3 separate regions of the Homo sapiens genome follow, and regions 2 and 3 are each linked to region 1. Evidence: promoter capture Hi-C in 16 types of primary human blood cells and fetal thymus (Javierre and others, 2016). All regions are on one chromosome and are shown on one strand. The core of a region is centred on a gene start or on the middle of the fragment in contact, and the rest is flanking DNA. Distances in the headings are between cores, read along the strand shown. Region 1 holds the start of BAG2 (BAG cochaperone 2). Region 2 overlaps DST (dystonin). Region 3 overlaps LINC00680 (long intergenic non-protein coding RNA 680).

Region 1 (2,876 bases), core at 196-2,695:
ACCAACTCCTGTGTACAGTTTCACGGAATTGCAGGTGCCTAACAAGATTTTCTTTTAACTACACCTGCTCACAAAATTTACACAGTAACTTGAGACAAACGTTCACAGGAAGTAGATAAAACTTTTCAATACACCGTTAAAGTCTTTCCAAAAATCTATTAACATTAAATTGTTTAGAAATTCTATACAAGTCTACTACTGTATTACCAAATAAATTCTTAAGCAAGAAAAGGGGAAAACTATCTTTTCATGCTTTCAGGCCAGTAACTAGCACTTAGTCTTCTATGTAGGGAGGTGCCCAATAAATACCGAGAGACGAACGGAACCGCTGAATCCCGTCCGCGAGGTTAGGGGAGAAACAGAAGCGGCAACGTCTCTGCTGCACGAAGCACCCGGTAACTTACTGCCTACCCCTCACTCCTGTCTAATCTTTGCTCTCAATGGATTGCTGGGTTGGTTTTGTTTTATTCATTTTTGTTCTGAAGCAAGGAAACTTAACTTCACGTGGAGGGCCACTGTAAACTGCTGCCTCCCTTAAAAAATGCATAACGAGAAGAGTAAGTTAAAACGTTTGGGGCCACACAGAAGGTTCTAGAAGTTCTGCAGACCCAAGCTGCCACAGTCCTTAATCGCATGGAATCTCACTGTAACTTTTATCTCCTCTGATTTTTTTCCGCTCCCTAACACCTAGGTAAATTAATCAAAGTGTGGCCACCGATAACGCCCTCACAGGTTTAGCTTAAATCGAATGCGTTTTCTCTCGGACTAGGGGAGATAATCCAAGAAACAAACAAAACTACACCACGTCCATCCACAACAAATCTCAACAAGCAACTTCGGTTGCCGCAGCCTCACTGTGCCCCAGGCCCCGGCCCGCCACACGCGGCCTCCGTCCGCTAACCGCCCGCGAACCGCCCGCGCGGCGAGCAGAACGCCCGAGACCGCCCGCCCGGAGCTCACCTGAGCTCCAGCTGGTCCAGGCTCTCCAGCAGGCGGCTGGAGCGGTCAGCCATGGAGGAGGAGCGGCAGAAGCGCCCCTCGTTGGCTTTAGCGTTGATCTTCGCCTGAGCCATCTAAGCCTCCGACGCGGGGTAGCCAAGAGGTCACCGGCCCCTCCGGCGGCAGCGAGTGGAGCGCTCCTTGGGCTGCAGGCGTCGCCGTCACCACGCGGGCGCCCGCCCTCCCTCTGACGCCCGCGGGGGCAACCCGGGAGGACTCGCCGACACCGCGGCTGCAGCGTAGCCAAAGAAGGGCAGGCGCGGCGCCCGCGGGGCTCGGGGACGCCGGGCCTGGGAGGGGGCTGCAGCGGCTGGAGTTAGAGGTTCGCGAGCCACACGGGCTCGAGGATGGGCCGACAGGGGCTCGGGCCTGGGGAGCGCAAGTCTCTGAGGCACGGGAGGGGCGGACGCAGAGACCGAGCGCCTAATGTGGCTAGCGGATCGTCTGCTCCCCGGACCCAGGAACTACCCGAAGCCCGCGCGGACCCACAGACCACCCCCAGCTCCGCCCCGCGAGGCCCCGCCTCTTCATGCAACCTAAAAGTAACCAACTCCCCCCACGCGAAGGTTCCTATCGGTCGACGGGCTGTGGGTGTATTGCTCAGTGACGGCTTCGTTTAGTTTCTCCCAGCACCCATAATTCAAAGCAAGAACAACGACATTATGGGGAGAAAACGTCCTTTTGTGAAACAGAAGGCAGTAAGTACAGCTCGTAGGCAGCCCACACTCACCTGACCTTCCTGTTACCACTTTATACTGAGATGAGAGTAATGAAAGCCCGGACAACACTGAAGCTATGAAGTAAAAAAGAAAAAGCTACTCCATCTTTCCCTGTCTAGCTAGATGTGGGAAGCAAAGTGAATTTACTTCATTTTTACCATTCTAATTTTCTTTTGTTTTTGAGATGGGGTCTAACTGTCGCCCACGTTGGAGTGTAGTGGCGCGATCACGACTTACTGCAGCCTCGACCTCCCGGGTTCAAGCGGTCCTCCCACCTCAGCCTCCCAAAGTGCTGGGATTACAGATGTGAACCACCACGCCTGGCTTAATGAAGGGGTTTTAAATTTTTGCTATTAAAATTATTCCTGTTGAGCGAGCCGAGATCTCGCCACTGCACTCCAGCCTGGGCGATAGAGCGAGACCTTGTCTCAAAAAAATAAATAAATAAATAAATATTCTGAGTGAAATAATTGGCATTAAAAAGTCCTCAACTTTTAAAAATCCTGTTAACAAAAAAGATGCAGTAGGCCTCTAGGTCAGGCACCAGCTGTCGGTAAAAGACGGAATAGAGCTGAGGATACAAAGATTAGTCTACTTAAAAAGTTAGGCTTTAGTCCCCTCTCCTGATAGCTCTATGCCTCTCATTGCAAGGATGACAATGTACAGGGCACAGAAAATGATAGATAATAATAGTTTAAAGCTGAGCCACCACCTTTAATCAGAGATCAAAGCCATTTAAATACTTGAACAGAGTTGAAGCCCTTAAGGCTGGATCCCAATTCCCTCTGAACTCATTTTAAATCCTAATTAACTCTTGGGGTAGGGGATTATTTGACCTTATTAAAAATAACTTTATCATGACACAAACGAAAACAAAACACATTTTGTGAGTGGTTTGAAAGTCTATCAAGTGACTTTAGAATCATCCTGAACTCTTTTTCTCTCTTATCCTAGATCCACACCATTAGTAAACCCCATCAATTTTGCCTTCAGAATATATCCAGATTCTTCCCAATTCTACCGCCACCATTCTGGTTCAAGCTACCTGGTGAGTTTGCACCTGGAATACTACAATACCTTCCTCTCTGGTCTCCCTGCTTCTACTCTTGCCTCTCATGTACATGTTATCTCAGTGCAGCAACTACAGCAATCCTAAAT
Region 2 (2,905 bases), core at 155-2,654, 660 kb after region 1:
TTTCATGGATTTCTATGCTGAGGTGATTTGAATAGCCACATTTTTAGCATAGCATCAAATAGTATGGAAAGGCTCATTATTGAGCTGAAATTTTAAAAATTGAGTTTTTTTGCCTTTTTGCATAATCTTTAAGCTCTCAAAACAAATTTGTGATTGTCTGTATAAAGGGAGGTACAAAACTTTGTAGCCACATCTTCAAATTGTTTAAACTAAAAGCTTTGCTGTTGCAGAATATTTGTAGCCTCCTAGGATGGCATTTCTTTTCCAGCTCTACAGCATCTTCTCCATGTATTTTGGGGGAAAATCTAGTTCATTCTAGCCAGGAATGAAAAATGGCTCCAAGGGCCATGTTACCACATGATAGATATCAAGTCACACCAGATAGCTCCAGCATGACTGGACTCCTATGACAGCATGTGCCAAGAATCATTTTGTCACATATAAGGCAAAAGGCATCTCCTTTTGGGCCCTTTTCTGATACACACACATACCTGAGTAGATGGCTGGTAGGTGTTCTCTTGCCTGTCATGGAATGGTTTAAGAAGGGTTTAAAAAAGGCTCCTCGGCCAGGCACAGTGGCTCATGCCTGTAATCCCAGCACTTTGGGAGGCCGAGGCAGGTGGATCACCTGAGGTCGGGAGTTTGAGACCAGCCTGACCAACATGGAGAAACCCTGCCTCTACTAAAAATACAAAATTAGTCAGATGTGGTGACTCACGCCTGTAATCCCAGCAGTTTGGGAGGCCGAGGCAGGTGGACCACCTGAGGTCAGGAATTCGAGACCAGCCTGACCAACATGGAGAAACCCCATCTCTACTAAAAATACAAAATCAGTTGGGCATGGTGGTGCATACCTATAATCCCAGCTACTTGGCATGCTGAGGCAGGAGAATCACTTGAACCTGGGAGGCGGAGGTTGTGGTGAGCCAAGATCGTGCCACGGCACTCCAGCCTGGGCAACAAGAGCAAAACTCTGTCTTAAAAAAAAAAAAAAAGGCTCCTCTCACTACTTGCCAAGCCAAGTTGCCTTATAGTGATGCTATACAGGTGAGATCTACCTAGACCCAAAGGAACTCCAGAAATATCAGCAGAGATGTAGCATTTTATTTGAGAGTCTCTTGATAACTCTTGAGTGAAAGCTTGTTTTCCAAGCATTCCTGAAAGAACATTGACAGGAGAACGTATGTAACATCTTCAGTTTTCCTTTTCCATGAGATTATCTATAGCTGATATACCATCACCACCTCCATTCGGTAAAGCAGCATGAAGATACCTAATTATGCCAAATAAAAATAAAAACTTGGCCTGGGACGCCCAGGAGCTAGATTGCAAACATGGCCCTCCCACATTCTTATGTGCAGCATGCTATATTAGACTCTTCCTTCTTTTAAAATTGAATTCATCTTTATTTAGCCCTTTCTAAAACTATTTTGAGGCAGTCTTTTGAAAACCTTCAAAAACATTTTATTACATTGGTGATAGTTAATGATGTAATTCCTCAACAGGTTCTCAAAATAATGCTCATAATTGATTTTAGTAGACACTTTCAATAAAAATCTAGGTATGTGGCCATCCTGGTGACTGATAGAAATTAGAGTTTGCAGGAAAAGATTGGTAGCTTATCTCTAGACCATCTTTCCTGAAAGTAAGATTCCCCAGAGAAGCTTTTGTGAGGGGCTGGAGTTTGGAGATACACATTCTGGTGAGGACAAAGAGCTGCTGATGAGGGAACCTAATCAATAATGTGGTGCAAATGAAAGACCCCTCAATGCTGCACAGAGGCCAGCCTCAGAAAAACCTGCAAGCAAAGGCAGATCTTCCCCCTGGGGGTGGCTTTGGTTTTGACCCATGAAAAACTGCTCATTGAAATCCATGGGATCCATGAGGTGTATGTATTCTAGCTTTATTCAGGCTTCCAACACATCTTCTCTATTAAAGGGAATGGGGATCCACTTGAATTCTACACCCACGCACTAGTATAAATATCATTGTATTTCTTGATTAGCTAGCAAAATTATGCACATTCATATGACATGTGTTTTTCCTTAAATATACCTTACAAACAATGCTCAGTATATAGCTGTGTATTGATAGATTGCCCTTGCAGCCTTTAATATTTTAAAATAATGAATATAGATTCATTCATATGTGTGTCTATATATCATATATATATAGAATAGATTCATACATAAATATAAAATGTAATACATGTTCATTCATTTTATATCAGTCCGCATATATAAATGCAATGCCTTGTGGGCTTACATCACCCTAACATTCCTTATCTTGAGGTTTTGTCTCAGCATTGCATCTAACTTATATTGAGCTTCTTTCTATTCTTTTTTCTTCCTTCCCTTCTCCCTCCTTCCCCCCGTCTTGTCTCTCTCTCTCTCTCTTTTTCTTTCTTCTATTTTTGTATATATCATGAGTGTGCAGAAAGGAACACCATCAGATATGACTTGGTGTCTGTAGGTTGGGGACATAGCGAGTTCAGAATACTTTTATATAATATGACCCTAGGCTAATGCTCTTGTCAAAATGTGCTACTCTTGGTATGAGATGCATAATAAACTGGGATTCATTATTTCACTGAACCAGCATCTTTGTACCCTAAAGGGTCTTTGGTGTGACCAGACTGTTGTTTAATCTTTGTGTCAGGACCTTCTCTTCCTGGCAAAGAGCTGTATGAGCCATCATGTGTTAAATGCCTTGTGATGGGGAGGGGTTTGTTTGGAGTTTCTTGCCAGCTGGATGCATTGCAGGTGTAGACAGCTGTAATATGGAGGTGTGACCCTGAGATACTGAAAAGCTGTTTGGTTTGTTATAGCAACTGCGTGAGTTGATAGCTGAACACAAGCCTCATATAGATAAGATGAACAAAACTGGGCCACAGTTACTGGAATTG
Region 3 (3,157 bases), core at 407-2,906, 780 kb before region 1:
TCCCGCCTCAGCCTCTGGAGTAGCTGGGACTACAGGTGCCTGCCAACACGCCTGGCTAATTTTGTTTTTGTATTTTTAGTAGAGATGGTGTTTCACCATGTTAGCCAGGATGGTCTCGATCTCCTGACCTCGTGATCCACTCACCTTGGCCTCCCAAAATGCTGGGATTACAGGTGTGAGCCACTGCACCCAGCAAAACCCTTCATTATTATGTGAAATTTCAAACACGGAAGTATAGTCACGAACTACCATGTACCTATCAATCAGATTTAACTACTGTAACAGTTCATGGCTAGCGTTACTTCTGTTTCCCCTTTCAGATGATTTCGAAGCAAATCTTGGACATCATTTTACTCATAAATATTTTTGTATATACCTTAAAACGATAAGGATTGTTTTAAAAAAAGCTTAGCCAAGATATGTGTAAGAGATAGGAAAAACCAAGTTGTTTCCTATCCTCTCACACTCCTCTCAGTACTTTCCCCTCCTTTTTTTTTTTTTTTTTTTTTTAAATTTGAGACAGGGTCTCACTGCTGTTGCTTAGACAGGTGCGCAGTGGCATGACCTTGCCTCACTACAGACTCCACTTCCCGGGCTCAGGTAATCCTCCCACCTCAGCCTCCCAAATAGTTGGGACTATAGGTTGGTGCTACCACACCCCACTAATTTTTTGTATTTTTAGTTGAGATAGATTTCACCATGTTGGCTGGGTGAGGTGGCTCATGCCTGTAATCCCAGCACTTTGGGAGGGGCGGATCACGAGGTCAGGAGATTGAGACCATCCTGGCTAACATGGTGAAACCCCGTCTCTACTAAAAATACAAAAAATTAGCTGGGTGTGGTGGCGGGTGCCTATAGTTCCAGCTACTTGGGAGGCTGAGGCGGGAGAATGGCGTGAACCCCAGAGGCAGAGCTTGCAGTGAGCCGAGATCTTGCCACTGCACTCTAGCCTGGGCGACAGAGTGAGACTCTTGTCTCAAAAAAAAAAAAAAAAATTCACCATGTTGTCCAGGCCAGTCTTGAATTCCTGGGCTCAAGTGATCCACCTGTCTTGGCCTCCCAAAGTGCTAGGATTACAGGTGTGAACCAGTACTTTATTTCTGACACCAGATATGTAGGAGTTTTCCCCCACACATCAACCAGTTCTCCAACTGGGTATCCGGTAACTCACTTTAATTCTGACACCGTCTGCCTGGAGACTACCACAAGACTGCCTTCACTCAGACACTAATCTCAATTCACAGGTTGTGACCAGTGCTTCTAATCTACTGGCTATAAGTCAGGGTTCCCATGACCACTCTTTTTGCTTTGATAATTAGCTAGGACGGCTCACAGGGAAACACTTTACTTATGTTTAACAGTTTATTATAAAGAATATTATAAATGATACAGATGAACAGCCAGATGAAGTAATGCATTGGGCAAGGTATGCGGTGGGAGAGGTGCAGAGCTTCTGTGCCCTCTCTGGGTGCACCAACTCCCCAGCATCCCCCTGTGTTCAACTACCCTGAAGCTAATCACATCTAGTGGTTCAGGAGTGTCTAGGCTGGGTGCAGTGGCTCACACCTATAATCCCAGCACTTTGGGGGACCAAGGTAGGAGGATCACTTGATCCCAGGAGTTTGAGACAAACCTGGGCTAACACAGTGAGATCCCGTTCAAAAAATCTTATAAAAATTAGCTGGGCATGGCGGCGCACACCTGTAGTCCCAACTACTTGGGAGGCTGAGGTGAGAGGGTCACTTGAGCCCAGAGGTTGAGGCTGCAGTGAGCTATGATCATGCCACTGCATCACAGCCTGAGTAAAAAAGCAAGAGCCTGTCTCAAAAAAAAAAAAAAAAAAAAAATTTCTATAGATCTTAATTTCCAGCTTCCCCAGAGATTGGTGGGTGGGGATGAAAGTTCCAATTATCTAACCCGTCAGTTTTTTTAGTGAGCAGCAGTCCCATCCTGAGGCCTAGGGATCCCACACTAAGTCACTTCAATAGCATAAATTTAGGTGGGATCCAAAGGGGCTTCTAATGAATAACAAAAGACAGCTCCTATCACTCAGGAAATTCCAAGGGTTTCAGAAGCTGTGTGGCAGGAACCTGAAACAAAGACCAAATATATATATATATTTTTGAGACAGAGTCTCGCTCTGTCGCCCAGACTGGAGTGCAGTGGTGTGATCTCGACTCACTGCAAGCTCCGCCTCCCGGGTGCACGCCATTCTCCTGTCTCAGCCTCCTGAGTAGCTGGGACTATAGGCACCGGGCACCATGCCTGGCTAATTTTTTTTTTTTTTTTTTGTATTTTTAGTAGAGACAGGGTTTCACCCTGTTAGCCAGGATGGTCTCGATCTCCTGCCCTCATGATCCGCCCCCCTCAGCCTCCCAAAGTGCTGGGATTACAGGAGTGAGCCACCGCACCTGGCCAAATATATTTCATATTATGCCACAATATCATCACATCAAAAAACAATTTTAATATCCTCAAACGATAGACAAAGACATGCTATCTGAGGCATTTACAAATGTTTTAAACAATTTAGTGAATGTTTGTACTATCACAGTATAGGTACCTTGTATTTGCCATTTTAAGCATATAATACAACATGTTTTGAACAAGGATTGTCTTATTTGGCTATGTCGGCTTTTTGTTGTTATTTACTTATTTATTTTTTTGAGTTGCCCAGACTGGAGGGCAATAGTGTAATCTAGGCTCACTGCAACCTCTGCCTCCTGGTTCAAGCAATTTTCCTGCCTCAGCCTCCCCAGTAGCTGGGATTATAGGCACGTGCCACCACCACCTGACTAACTTTTGTATTTTTAGTAGAGACAGGGTTTCACCATGTTGGCCAGGCTGATCTCAAACTCTTGAAGTCAAGTGATCCGCCTGCCTCAACCTCCCAAAGTGAAGCTTTTTATTTTTAATTTTTTTATTTTCAATTTTTGTGGGTACATAGTAGATGTATATATTTGTGGGTATGTAAGTTTTATAGCCCCTGGTACTTTGCTTTGTAAAATAGGTTCTCAGTAATATTTTGAGAATATTAAATTGAATTTAGACCTGTAATACTGTCTTGTTAAAAAATGAAATCTTGCTGCTTTGGAGAATGTTTTAAAATGGCACAATCTGGGCTGGGCACGGTGGCTCACGCCTGTAATCCCAGCAC

The links. The method cuts DNA at HindIII sites, captures the fragments that hold promoters and counts their contacts. A CHiCAGO score of 5 or more calls a contact.
Region 2: a fragment that was not itself captured here is called in contact with the fragment with the promoter of BAG2 in region 1 in 1 of 17 cell types (erythroblasts); the score reaches 7.0 in erythroblasts.
Region 3: a fragment that was not itself captured here is called in contact with the fragment with the promoter of BAG2 in region 1 in 4 of 17 cell types (non-activated CD4 T cells, naive CD8 T cells, total CD8 T cells and 1 more); the score reaches 9.3 in non-activated CD4 T cells.

Annotation. Positions count from the first base shown.
Region 1 is chr6:57,170,895-57,173,770 of GRCh38, reverse strand. It overlaps BAG2 (BAG cochaperone 2), which reads right to left and starts at 1,445. Exons shown (of 3, transcript NM_004282.4): 1 at 961-1,445. The coding sequence starts at 1,073. ZNF451-AS1 (ZNF451 regulatory antisense RNA 1) reads left to right here and starts at 1,558. Exons shown (of 4, transcript NR_110742.1): 1 at 1,558-1,697; 2 at 2,673-2,766. RefSeq lists an enhancer at 541-1,298 and silencers at 1,033-1,302, 1,353-1,432. The HindIII fragment of the contact is 6,211 bases long and covers 1-2,876 here.
Region 2 is chr6:56,511,323-56,514,227 of GRCh38, reverse strand. DST (dystonin) reads left to right here. Exons shown (of 104, transcript NM_001374736.1): 73 at 2,828-2,905. Among named protein-coding and RNA genes, the nearest start is that of COL21A1, 270 kb to the right of the region's middle. The HindIII fragment of the contact is 525 bases long and covers 1,142-1,666 here.
Region 3 is chr6:57,953,868-57,957,024 of GRCh38, reverse strand. All of the region lies in intron 2 of LINC00680 (long intergenic non-protein coding RNA 680), which reads left to right. It also overlaps the pseudogene LINC00680-GUSBP4. Among named protein-coding and RNA genes, the nearest start is that of LINC00680, 6.0 kb to the left of the region's middle. The HindIII fragment of the contact is 2,494 bases long and covers 410-2,903 here.